Linked DNA regions of Homo sapiens: region 1 is linked to region 2. Evidence: promoter capture Hi-C in 16 types of primary human blood cells and fetal thymus (Javierre and others, 2016). All regions are on one chromosome and are shown on one strand. The core of a region is centred on a gene start or on the middle of the fragment in contact, and the rest is flanking DNA. Distances in the headings are between cores, read along the strand shown. Region 1 overlaps ANKRD34C-AS1 (ANKRD34C antisense RNA 1). Region 2 holds the start of ADAMTS7 (ADAM metallopeptidase with thrombospondin type 1 motif 7).

What was found. The method cuts DNA at HindIII sites, captures the fragments that hold promoters and counts their contacts. A CHiCAGO score of 5 or more calls a contact.
Region 1: a fragment that was not itself captured here is called in contact with the fragment with the promoter of ADAMTS7 in region 2 in 1 of 17 cell types (total B cells); the score reaches 5.3 in total B cells.

The regions. Positions count from the first base shown.
Region 1 is chr15:79,190,247-79,195,115 of GRCh38, forward strand. ANKRD34C-AS1 (ANKRD34C antisense RNA 1) reads right to left here. Exons shown (of 2, transcript NR_038997.1): 2 at 1,461-1,856. Among named protein-coding and RNA genes, the nearest start is that of MIR184, 17 kb to the right of the region's middle. The HindIII fragment of the contact is 1,142 bases long and covers 2,428-3,569 here.
Region 2 is chr15:78,807,377-78,812,713 of GRCh38, forward strand. It overlaps ADAMTS7 (ADAM metallopeptidase with thrombospondin type 1 motif 7), which reads right to left and starts at 4,088. Exons shown (of 24, transcript NM_014272.5): 1 at 3,745-4,088. The coding sequence starts at 3,844. RefSeq lists a silencer at 4,116-4,535. The HindIII fragment of the contact is 7,795 bases long and covers 1-5,337 here.

The sequences.
Region 1 (4,869 bases), core at 1,749-4,248, 380 kb after region 2:
TGTTAATTAGCTCTTCATTAGAGCAGGGGGCTGCCCCAGAGGAGTCAGGAGCCGAGGGGCCTGCTAGCCAACCCCGTCACCCCGGTAACTCCATCCTAATTGGAAGGCAGATGTTGCGGCTTCCAAGGCAGATGGAGAAGGTGAAACTGTGCCTTCTTTCATTCTCCCTCCACTGTTCCTGGGGAGGGGGCTTGAGGAGGTGGAAGAGAGGGAAGGGCTGTTAGCAACACCTGACCCTGGCATCGTCGTGCTCTAGGCCTGTGGAGGGTGAGCTTCCTTGGCACAACTCCCCGTAGCTTCGAAGACCAAGACCAGAGAACATGCTGTCTGGGAAGGCTTCTGACTCCAGGGAGGGAGTGAAAGCAAGTTTCCAAACCAAGGTTGAGTCAACTAAAGTATAGTCACCCCTGGAGTCAGCATGTGACATCCAGGATAATTAGGTTTTCCCATTCTCTTCTTTTTTAGTTTAGATAACAACTCTCGGGCTGTCTGCATTTCACTGTGTGAATAGGTTAAGAAACCCTATTTATAAGTTTAATGACAATCTTATTCTGGGAAAAAAAATACAAATTTGAGCATGCTTTGCTTCTAACTGGGGTTGGCAGGCTTTTCCTGTAAAGGGCCAGGTGGTCAATATCTTAGGCTTTGTGGGCCACACAGTCTCTGTCTCAACTGCTCAACTTGGCCTTTGCAGTATGAGCACAGCATAGGTGATACCCAAACAAATGGGTGTGGTTGACTTGGCCTCGGCCCCAGGGTCACAGTTGACCTGCACCTCTCTCTTGGATTTGAAGACAAGCGTCAGGTGGCTGTAACTAATGCTGACTGGCAGGCGGTGGCTGTGTGGACCGCTGTGATGGGAAGAAGCCCAAGGCCTCGGGCAGGTTTGGTGGGAAGGGTGGCTGGGTTTAGTGATGTTTGCCACTGGCCAGGTAGGGAGGACGGCAGCTTCGTGCCCTGTGTTTGTAGCCCTGCCTGGCAGCTCTGAGTGGGAGAGAGTGAGCTGGATTACAATGCACACAGGCAGCAGGTCAGTGGAAAGGGAGTTTTTGGAATGGGGGCGGCACTGTGCAAGGGCGGAAAGGACACTTTTTGTTTGGACACTGTCATTTACTCTCTGTGAATCTTTCAGATATCTATCTATCTATCATCTGTATCTATCTATATCTATCTATATCTTTTTTGAGACCGAGTTTCACTCTTGTCGCTCAGGCTGGAGTGCAGCGGTGTGATCTCAGCTCACTGCAGCCTCTGCGCAGGTTTAAGTGATTCTCCTGCCTCAGCCTCCTGAGTAGCTAGGATTACAGGCACCCTCCACCATGCCTGGCTAATTATTCCACTTCAATTCACATGGCTCCCAGAAGCACCACACTCCTCACTACCCTCTTCTGACCCTGCCAGTACCAGGATACTTCCCCCAGTAAAGCAACATCGTCGTCGAGGAACGCCACAGCACACCCTGCACCAGAGCCCCCCGAGCACCAGGGCTGCACATGCAGCTTTGACACTGATTTTGATGAGCAGCTCTCTGTCCCTGGGCCACCCCATAGCTCCTGAGCCCTCCTAACCCTGGTCCTTTTCAGTGAGATGCCACCTTTATCACATCACTGGGAGAACACAAGGAGGCACATTTCTAACAGTGCCCCAAGCAGCCATGACTTTGAGCTCTAGTCATGCCAGATTTTCAGGCTTCAGCCCTTCTTTAGACGTCGGCTCCTCCCAGGATGTGCACAAGGACGGTGTCCTGGTCACTTTGGGCCTCTGCATTTGCTGTTTCCTGCTGGCCTCTGCTCCTCTCCCTGGGCCTCTGTGTCCACTGGTGTCCCTCTGGCCACAGCTGCTGCCACTGTGCAGGCCTGGGGTGGGGACAAGAGAGGAGACATCCTTTATGATTCCATCGCAAGCACAGGGCCCCTTAATTTCCAAAGTGGCGCAGAAACCAGCTTGTAAATTTTGATGAGACTATACAAAACTTTCAGGATCAAGTTTCACAACAGAGAGTTGTGATTTGATGTGATGGTCTCCTTGCCTAGCACTGGGCCTCTCTCAGGCCGTGGGCCTCACTTCGCAGTGTGAGAGCCTCATAAGCCGTCTGCAGTCCCTAGAATCCAGACTCCATGCCTGACACCCTGGTCCCAGGCTGATGGTGACAGCAGAAACGGTCACTGTCTTCAACAGAAATCCCGCCCACAGTGTCGGCTCCTCTCCTGACCCCAGTAGGGACGTGGCATCAGAATACAGGAATGTGAGATCAGCCTGCCTCCAAAAGCCAAGAGGGTCTTAGTTTTGAATGCTTGGTGTGCAGGACATTGACTGCACATTCCAGGTTGAATTTCCCACCTGCAGGCTCTGCTTGCCTATTTATAGAAGTGCCTCTAACACAGGGCAAAGATGGCGTTTCCCCAGCCTCAGATTGCCTGTTATCTAAGCTTCGTAAAGGCACACACACAGCTTCTCAAGCACCAGCAACTGTATGCAAGCCCAGGACAGTGCCAATCCAGTGGAAAACACAGGAATGCTTCTTGGTGCCTGGGAAGAACCAAGTCTGCAGAGCAGATGCTCACTCAAACACGAACCACATGTAACATTACCCGACACGACACAGAGCTTCTTAAGAAAGGCAGCTGCGGTTTTTCAACTGCGGCTGCACAGTACAATTAATCACCTGGGGAACACTTGAAATGACTGATGTCCGAGCCACACTCAGAGCGACAGAGTCAGAAGCTCTTAAAGGGTTGGCCCAGGAACTGGCATTTTCAAAAAGCTCCCAGATGATTCTGTTGTGCAGCATGTGCTGGAACCTGTGCTCTGAAATGCCAACATCCAGATGACTGGTGGTGTTAGTCAGAATAAGCTGGGTTCTAGAATAAGCTGGGTTCTCCTACAGTCACTCATAAATCCCAGTATTTTAGTGGCCTATCACAACAAGGGTTCATTTTTCCTTCACACTGCCTGTCCATTAAGGGTCAGCAGGAGACTCCACTCCACACAGGGAGCGAGTCACGGAGGCTTTGTTACTGTGTGACGGACGGCATTCTCTTAAATACTTGCTTCCTTGGTTGCCATGGCAGGGGAAGAGACATCTGGAAGGTCACACCAGGCTCTTCTAGGTTTTAGGCTGAAAGTAGCACCTGTCACTCTCTGCCATAGCCCCGGCCAGAGCTGGTCACATGGCTCTGGCCGGCAATAAGGCAGCTGGCAAGGAGGTGGTGGTGGGGATGAGCAGGAGGCTGATGGATGTTTGATGGATGCCATTGTTTCTGCCACACTGGTGTTTTACACATCTTGTCCCCCAGTATTGACTTGGTGCTTACTTGACTGAAGGGTCATTTCAGGAAATTATGCCAGAAGGAAAAACCAGCCAGCCTTAACATAGTGGTCAGGTTTAAGTCTCCATCACTTGGAGCTGCCTGCCATTTTGGCATTTTTGTAGCTTCCAAAAATCCCACCAGAGTTTGACAGAAAATGTAGATATTTTGCTTTGTTACTTATGTGCACAGTCAGCCATTTCAGGACTTTCCATTGATTTGTCGTTTCTCACATTGACAGTGCACTGTTTTAAGTATTGAAGCTTTGCAGGGCATATTGATACATTATAAGCTCAGTTACCTCTCAGTGCTTTTGTATTTCGGATATTATCTTGTTTTTTTTCTTTACTCATTTTTCATTGTACAAACTTTAAAAATAAGTGTTATAAAATTTGGTTATGATTTCTATTGGGATTAGACATCTTTATAATATAATCTTCTGCCTCAAGGAAATGCCCTATATTTCTAATTATTAAAATCTTCTGGCTGGGCACAGTGGCTCATGCCTGTAATCCCAGCACTTTGGGAGGTTGAGGCAGGTGGATCATTTGAGGCCAGGAGTTTGAGGCTGCAGTGAGCTATGATGGTGCCACTGCACTCTAGCCTGGGTTACAGAGCGAGACCCTGTCTCTAAATAAATAAATAAAGTCTTCCCCTGACTTTCTCAATGAATGTTAGCATTTTTTTCTTATAGGACTTACATATTTCTTACTAAGTTTATTTTCATATATACACATTCACATACCTATATATACATATATTCATATGAAATGTGTATAGCATATTTTCCCATCATATTTTCTAATTATAGATGATATTTAGGAATGTTATTGATATTTATATATTCTTTATAGAACAATCAACTTTATTAAACTTGAATGGATTTTTTTTCCAGGTAGAAAATCATATTGCCTGAAAATGAGTATAGTTTTGTCATCTTCTCTCTTATAATTTTGCATCCGATTTGTTACCAGGCCTTATGGCATTGACCAAGCCCTTCAGAACAATGTTTCACAACAATAGGACCGGCTGTGTTCTTGTCTTAGTCCTTATTTTAATGGTAACAACTGCAGTGTTTCCTGTTGATTGCTATTTTTGGATAGATATTTTAGTATCTCACGAAAGCATTCTTCTAATCTTAGTCCCCACAGTATTTTTTTCATCATTAGTAGTAAATATTAGATTTTATGAAATACTTTTTGCCATCTATTGATATGATGTGTGCTTTTTTTTTGCCTTTTTCTTTTATATCCTTTTTATGGTCCGGTTGATGTAATAGTAAAAATTAAAAAAAAATCATTGTATTTAATCCTTGAGGAATAAAGACAACTCTTGGCTTCACATTCAAGACTTTTTAAAGATGGACTCCAAACTGACTTGTCCAGTCTCCCATCCCATCATCTCTCCAAACTCACATCAGCTGCACCTGATGACAGGCATGACCCAAAACCTGTAAAGTGTTTTGCAGCCCCTCATGCTGTTCACTTTGTCTGAATTGCAGTATCATTATCTTCCAAATGGGGACCCCCTGAACAATCTTCTAGGGTGATGCCCCTGTGAA
Region 2 (5,337 bases), core at 2,838-5,337:
TACCTGCTGTAGATCCTGGGCAAATATTGCAAGACAGAAATTCCAGATGACTTACAAAGAAGCATCCTATTAAGTTCAAAAATGTGGACAGGGCTAAGTAGAGCTATGCCGCAGGTGAAAAGCATTCGGATTAGTGAGCTCTAGAGCCAGAGAGGCTGTGTTTGAATCCCAGCTCTGCTACCCATATCTGTGAGACCATGGGTAAATTACTCAACCACTCAGAATCTCAGTTTCTCCATCTGTAAAATGGGGATGATAATAATTACAGCTGCTCTCTTTGGTTGTGTAAGAATTAAATGAGTTAGTATGTAAGTGCTTATAACAACAGCTGGCACATAGCAAATGTGAGCTAAGTTATGACTGAAAATTAGCAAGAGAACTTCTAAAGTATATTTAGCTTTTTCTTTTAAAAACTTGTTGTTTTATCTGTTTGCCTAATGGCTTAAAAACAAACAAAACAAAACAAAACAAAAAACATGTTTTTATTTATTTATTTCTTTTTTTTTTTTCTGAGATCTCCCAGGCTGGAGTGCAGTGATGCGATCGTGGTTTACTGCAGCCTTGACCTCCTGGGCTCATGCAATCCTCCCACCTCAGCCTCCCAAATAGCTGGGACTACAGGCGTGGACTACCAGGCCTGGATAATTTTTAAATTTTTTTGTAGAGATGGGGTCTCATTATGCTGCCCAGGCTGGTCTTGAATTTCTGGGCTCAAACGATCTGCCTACCTTGGCCTCCCAAAGTGCTGGAATTACAGGTGTGAATCACTGTGTCTGGTCTAAAACATGTTTTTCAATCAACAATAAAAGAATAGACTTACAGGATGTTGCCACTTTTATTGCAATAATTTTTTTCTTGTTTTGTTCAGATTTTTTCTTTTGAGACAGTCTCCCTGTGTCACCCAGGCTAGAATGCAGTGGTGCGATCTCGGCTCACCGCAACCTCTGCCTCCTGGGTTCAAGCAATTCTCATGCCTCAGCCTTCCGAGGAGCTGGGATTACAGGCATGCACCACCATGTCCAGCTAATTTTTGTATTTTAATAGAGATGGAGTTTCACCATGTTGGCCAGGCTGGTTTCGAACTCCTGGCCTCAAGTGATCCGCCAGCCTCAGCTTCCCAAAGTGCTGGGATTACAAGCATGAGCCACTGCAGCCCGCCAGCATTACCTTTTTTTATAGTGAACTTGTATTGTTTTGCCATTAAAATATTTTTAAAAAGTGCAGGGGTAAGTTTAAAAATAAGTAACTTTCACTGTAGCCTAGTTGACCTCACTCAGTAGAGATGTTGGTGGCTGAAACTAGCACCACCCAGTGCCAGCAAGGAGTAATTGCAGGTTCCAGTCTCGACCGGTTATGTGCTTGCAACAAAGCTGAGCCTGCAGAGTTCAAGTGACAGTGGGATGGCAACAGGCACCATTCAAGAGGACTGCCAGAGATTCATGGCCAAATCTATTCTGCCAAGTCAGGAGGTCTGTTCTGATTGGACCAAGCTCCTGCCACATTGGGTGTTAAATACTTTTAATATCTCCCCTGGGTGACAGAACTGTCACTTTGGAGCTTCTACCAAAGAAATGCCAAGATGGTGTTTACCCTCACCTCCCTATCAAGAACCTGAGTTACAATCCAGCCCTTCAAATGACCCACAGCTCATGCCAAGGAGGAAAAATAACTGGCAGGGTGGGGGGTAGTATGTGAATGCCCTCCTCTGTGAGTTCTAGTATGCACAGAAACACATGCACACAGAGTTCACATGTGCCATACGGCATGAGGAGGACACATGACTGGGCTCCAGCCTCAGAAACCCTAGCAGGTCCCTGGGTCAGTCACAAGTGGGGAAAAGGGATATATTTTCCTAAAAGTGAGCCCAGGATGAGCCCTTTGGTCTTAAAGAAGGTAACATTCAGTGGTAGGAGGAGCCCCAGGCTTAGGTCCTGGGCTTCAAAGAAAATGACAAACAGGCCAGCAGCCTCAGAGTCACCAATCCTGAGGGAGTGCAGAACAGGAAGGACCCCATGCTCTATATCTATGGGAACACTAGAGACAGACTTCACCCTTGGAGTGTTTGTGCCCAGATTAGGTTGGAGAGAGTGCCTGGCCTGCCTCCACCCTCAAACAGCAGGTCCAGGTCATCTGGGGAGTCCTGGGTCGGCCTGGCAGATTAATAAAAATAATGACCACTACATTGTAGTCACTGTGTCCTGCCTGAGCAACTGACATATTCAATATCTCATTTAATCCTCATAAGAATCCCACGAGGTTGACCGCACCCAACTCTTCCCACAGCTGCCAGGGGGCCAGGACCCAAGTCCTGAGGGAAGCATTTTCCTGCTCTCCCATTCCCATCGCCCGGTTCATCCTCCTCAGCCCCCAGCTCTGGACAGTGGAAAACACAAGCCTCATTCAGGAAGCTCAGGAGTCCAACCCCACAGGTCGCTCTACTCTGAGCCTGTTTGCTGGTCCATAAAAGGACTTTCCATCACTTGCTTTGCACGGTTGTTGTGGAGATGATGAGAAATAAGAACCCGTGAGGCTGGCACACAGTAGGTGCTCATTAAATGTTCGCTCCCTCTGCGCTCTGCGCATGGCTGCTAGACCAAATCTTTCCAAAACACTGCTTTCATCAGCTGCTCCCCTCAACGGCTTCCCAAACCTCTAAGATCAAGAGTCAATGTCCCCATCCTTCCCGCCCAGACTACTTTCTCGTCACAATCCCTCCAGTGGGGAGGCAGGTCGACCCCATCCCAGCAAGCAACCCTAATCCAGTCCCCCGACTGATGCTCCCCAGGGGAGGGCCCCACTCCCTCCACGCCCTTCTAGCTCATCCAGAATCCATCCATCCTTCCAGTCTCTCCAACCTCATGCCCCTCCTCTCCTACAAAGCCTGCCGGTCGGCTCTATTGCAGGACTCTCCCCACTATCCACCGGCTCCCCTGACTGGGAGCTCCCTGAGCACCGGGCCTGGGGTCTCCTACATCCTCGGTTACTGAATTCCCAGGCCGGCTGCGTCGGACGCGCCAGCAGCGCGGCCGCCCGGCAGGTCGCCGCCAAACAAGAGTCTGGACGCAGGCCAGAGGCTCGTCGGAGGCCGGCCCGGCGGGGCGGGGAGAGTTAACCCATGGCCGGGAAAAGAAGCTCCTGCTCCCCGCTCCACTCCCGGCGTCTTCACACTTGGGGAAGGGAGAGGCAGGAAGTGCAAGGACCGCGCAAGACCCGGCCCCCCGAGCCGCCAGGGGCCGCGCCAGCAGCCCAGATGCGGTGGGCGGGAGCTGGGGGGGCGGCGGGGTCCCGCGAAGACCTGCGACCTGGCGCCCTCGCCGGCTGTGTCCCGGCCAGCCCGCTTTCCAGGCGAGCCTCGCTAAGGAGTGTGAGAAACCAAATCCTCAGTGGGTAAACCGCGCTCCGTCCAGCCCACTCGGACGAGAGCTCTCCCGGGAGCCAGGCGCGTTGCTGCACCCGAGGTGGGGAAACCGGAGCCCGAAGAGCGGAAGGGGCTTATTCCAGGCGACAGGCAGTGTCAGTAACTGAATCAGGGGCCGAGGAAGTTTCCCCAGAAGCGCGGCTTCGCTCCCGGCCCGGCCCGACCCCGACTACTGTCCCCTAATACCCAGGGAGCGGAAGACGCGACCAACTCCAGGCACAGCGGAGCCGGCGCGGGGTCCACAAAGGTGAGGAGGGACAAAACCGAGACTGGGGGAGCGGGAAGGGGTGGCAGGCCCGGCTGGCCGGGGAGGGGCGGACACCCACCTGGTGCGGGTCCGGGGGCGCCGGGAGCCAGAGCGCAGAGGAGCAGGAGGAGGGGGCGCAGCAAAGGCGCGGGGCTGCGGGGACTGGGGCCGCCGGGCATGGCAGGAACCGGGCGGCCGCCGGGTGACCCCGCGCGCACGCTCTCGTCCGTCCCGTCCGGTCGCTGCCTGGTCCCAGGTCCGGCTCAGGACATGCCCGGCCGGCGTGCAGCTCCCGGCGACCCGGCCCCGACTCCGTTCGGCTGCGCTCGGTCCGCGGGCAACAAAGGCTGCAGGGCCCGCCCCCTTGGCCGCTGCAGAGGCAAAGAAAAGACAAGAGAGCTAGAAGGAGAGAAAGAAAGAAAGAAAGAAAGGGAGGGAGAGTGAGGGAGGGCGGCTGCCGGCCCCCGCCCCGCCCCTCGGACTCCTTCCCCCGCCCCTGGCCCCGCCCCGCCCCGGCCGGCCCCGGCCTCATCGGCCCCGCAGGCCGTGCTCGCCTCAAGGGCTGGCCGGCCCGGCGCAGGCAGCGCCCCGCAACGGATGTCCGCCCCCCTCGCCCCCCTGTCCCGAGCGCCCCCTGCCGGCGGAGCCCTGCCAGGCCTTTCCGACCCCGGCCGGTTGAGGACCCCCGGAAAGAATCTGGAATTTCCAGAATTAATGTGTTGTCCCTAAATTGGGCTCCACGAGGTGCCCTTCGCTGTGTTCCCCAGGCCAAGCAGGGCAGCCCCTCAAAAGGGGACGCGGGAGGCCTCCAGAGGGCCACACCGGGGGCCCTGCTTCAAAGCTATCTGCGGAGACAGGCCTGGGCCCTCCCTGGACAGACAGCGGTTGCCCGCGCGAGGTGGGGCCCCGCAGTTCCTCGTCTCCTGACTCCTCTCCTAGTGCGTTTGCTTGAAGCAGAGCGCAGAGTTGAGCCCACAGGCGGGGGACCGCGGCTTCGCCCAGGCCAGCGCCCACAGACTTTCAGCAGGGGCTCCCGGGGAGCCTGGAGGCCGGCCAACCCCAGCCTCACATCCCAGGCCAGCCTCCGCCTCCAACACCGGCCGTCTGTCCTTCGTGGCCCCAGCCCTGGCTCTGGCTTCCGGCTCCCCTTCCCCCTGTGCTCCCAGGAGCTTCCTTTCTCCCTTCTGCCGTCACTAAACATGGCCCTGTACCGAGGACGCCCGTCTTGTCCTCGGGGCGGTTGCGGTCAGCTTCCTCCCCTTGGTTAGTCTTTGTGTGCCCCCTGCCCTCTGAGGCCCGCACACCTCCTCATTGTCCAATCTCCTGGGCCCTTTCATTCAATTCCTGGAAGCTCACTTCTGGCTTCCTCTCCACCCTCAACCTGTCTGTCCTCTAGGGAATTTGTGTAGTACAGGGTCACCTACTTCCTCCATCTCATCTCCAGTGACCTTCCACTCCACCTCAGCCATCAGGTCTCAGGGCCAAAGCCTGGGCTGTGTCATCCCTCAGAACTGCTCCATCTTGGAAATCCGAAGCTCAGGTGCCCCCCTGTCAGACCCGACTCTGCAGTCCTTTCCACCTTCACAGTCCCACTATGTATTGCTCTTCCTCCAGTCCCTTGATACCTTCCTCTTCGCCCAACCTACCAGCCCCTCCTGGCTTCACCTACTTC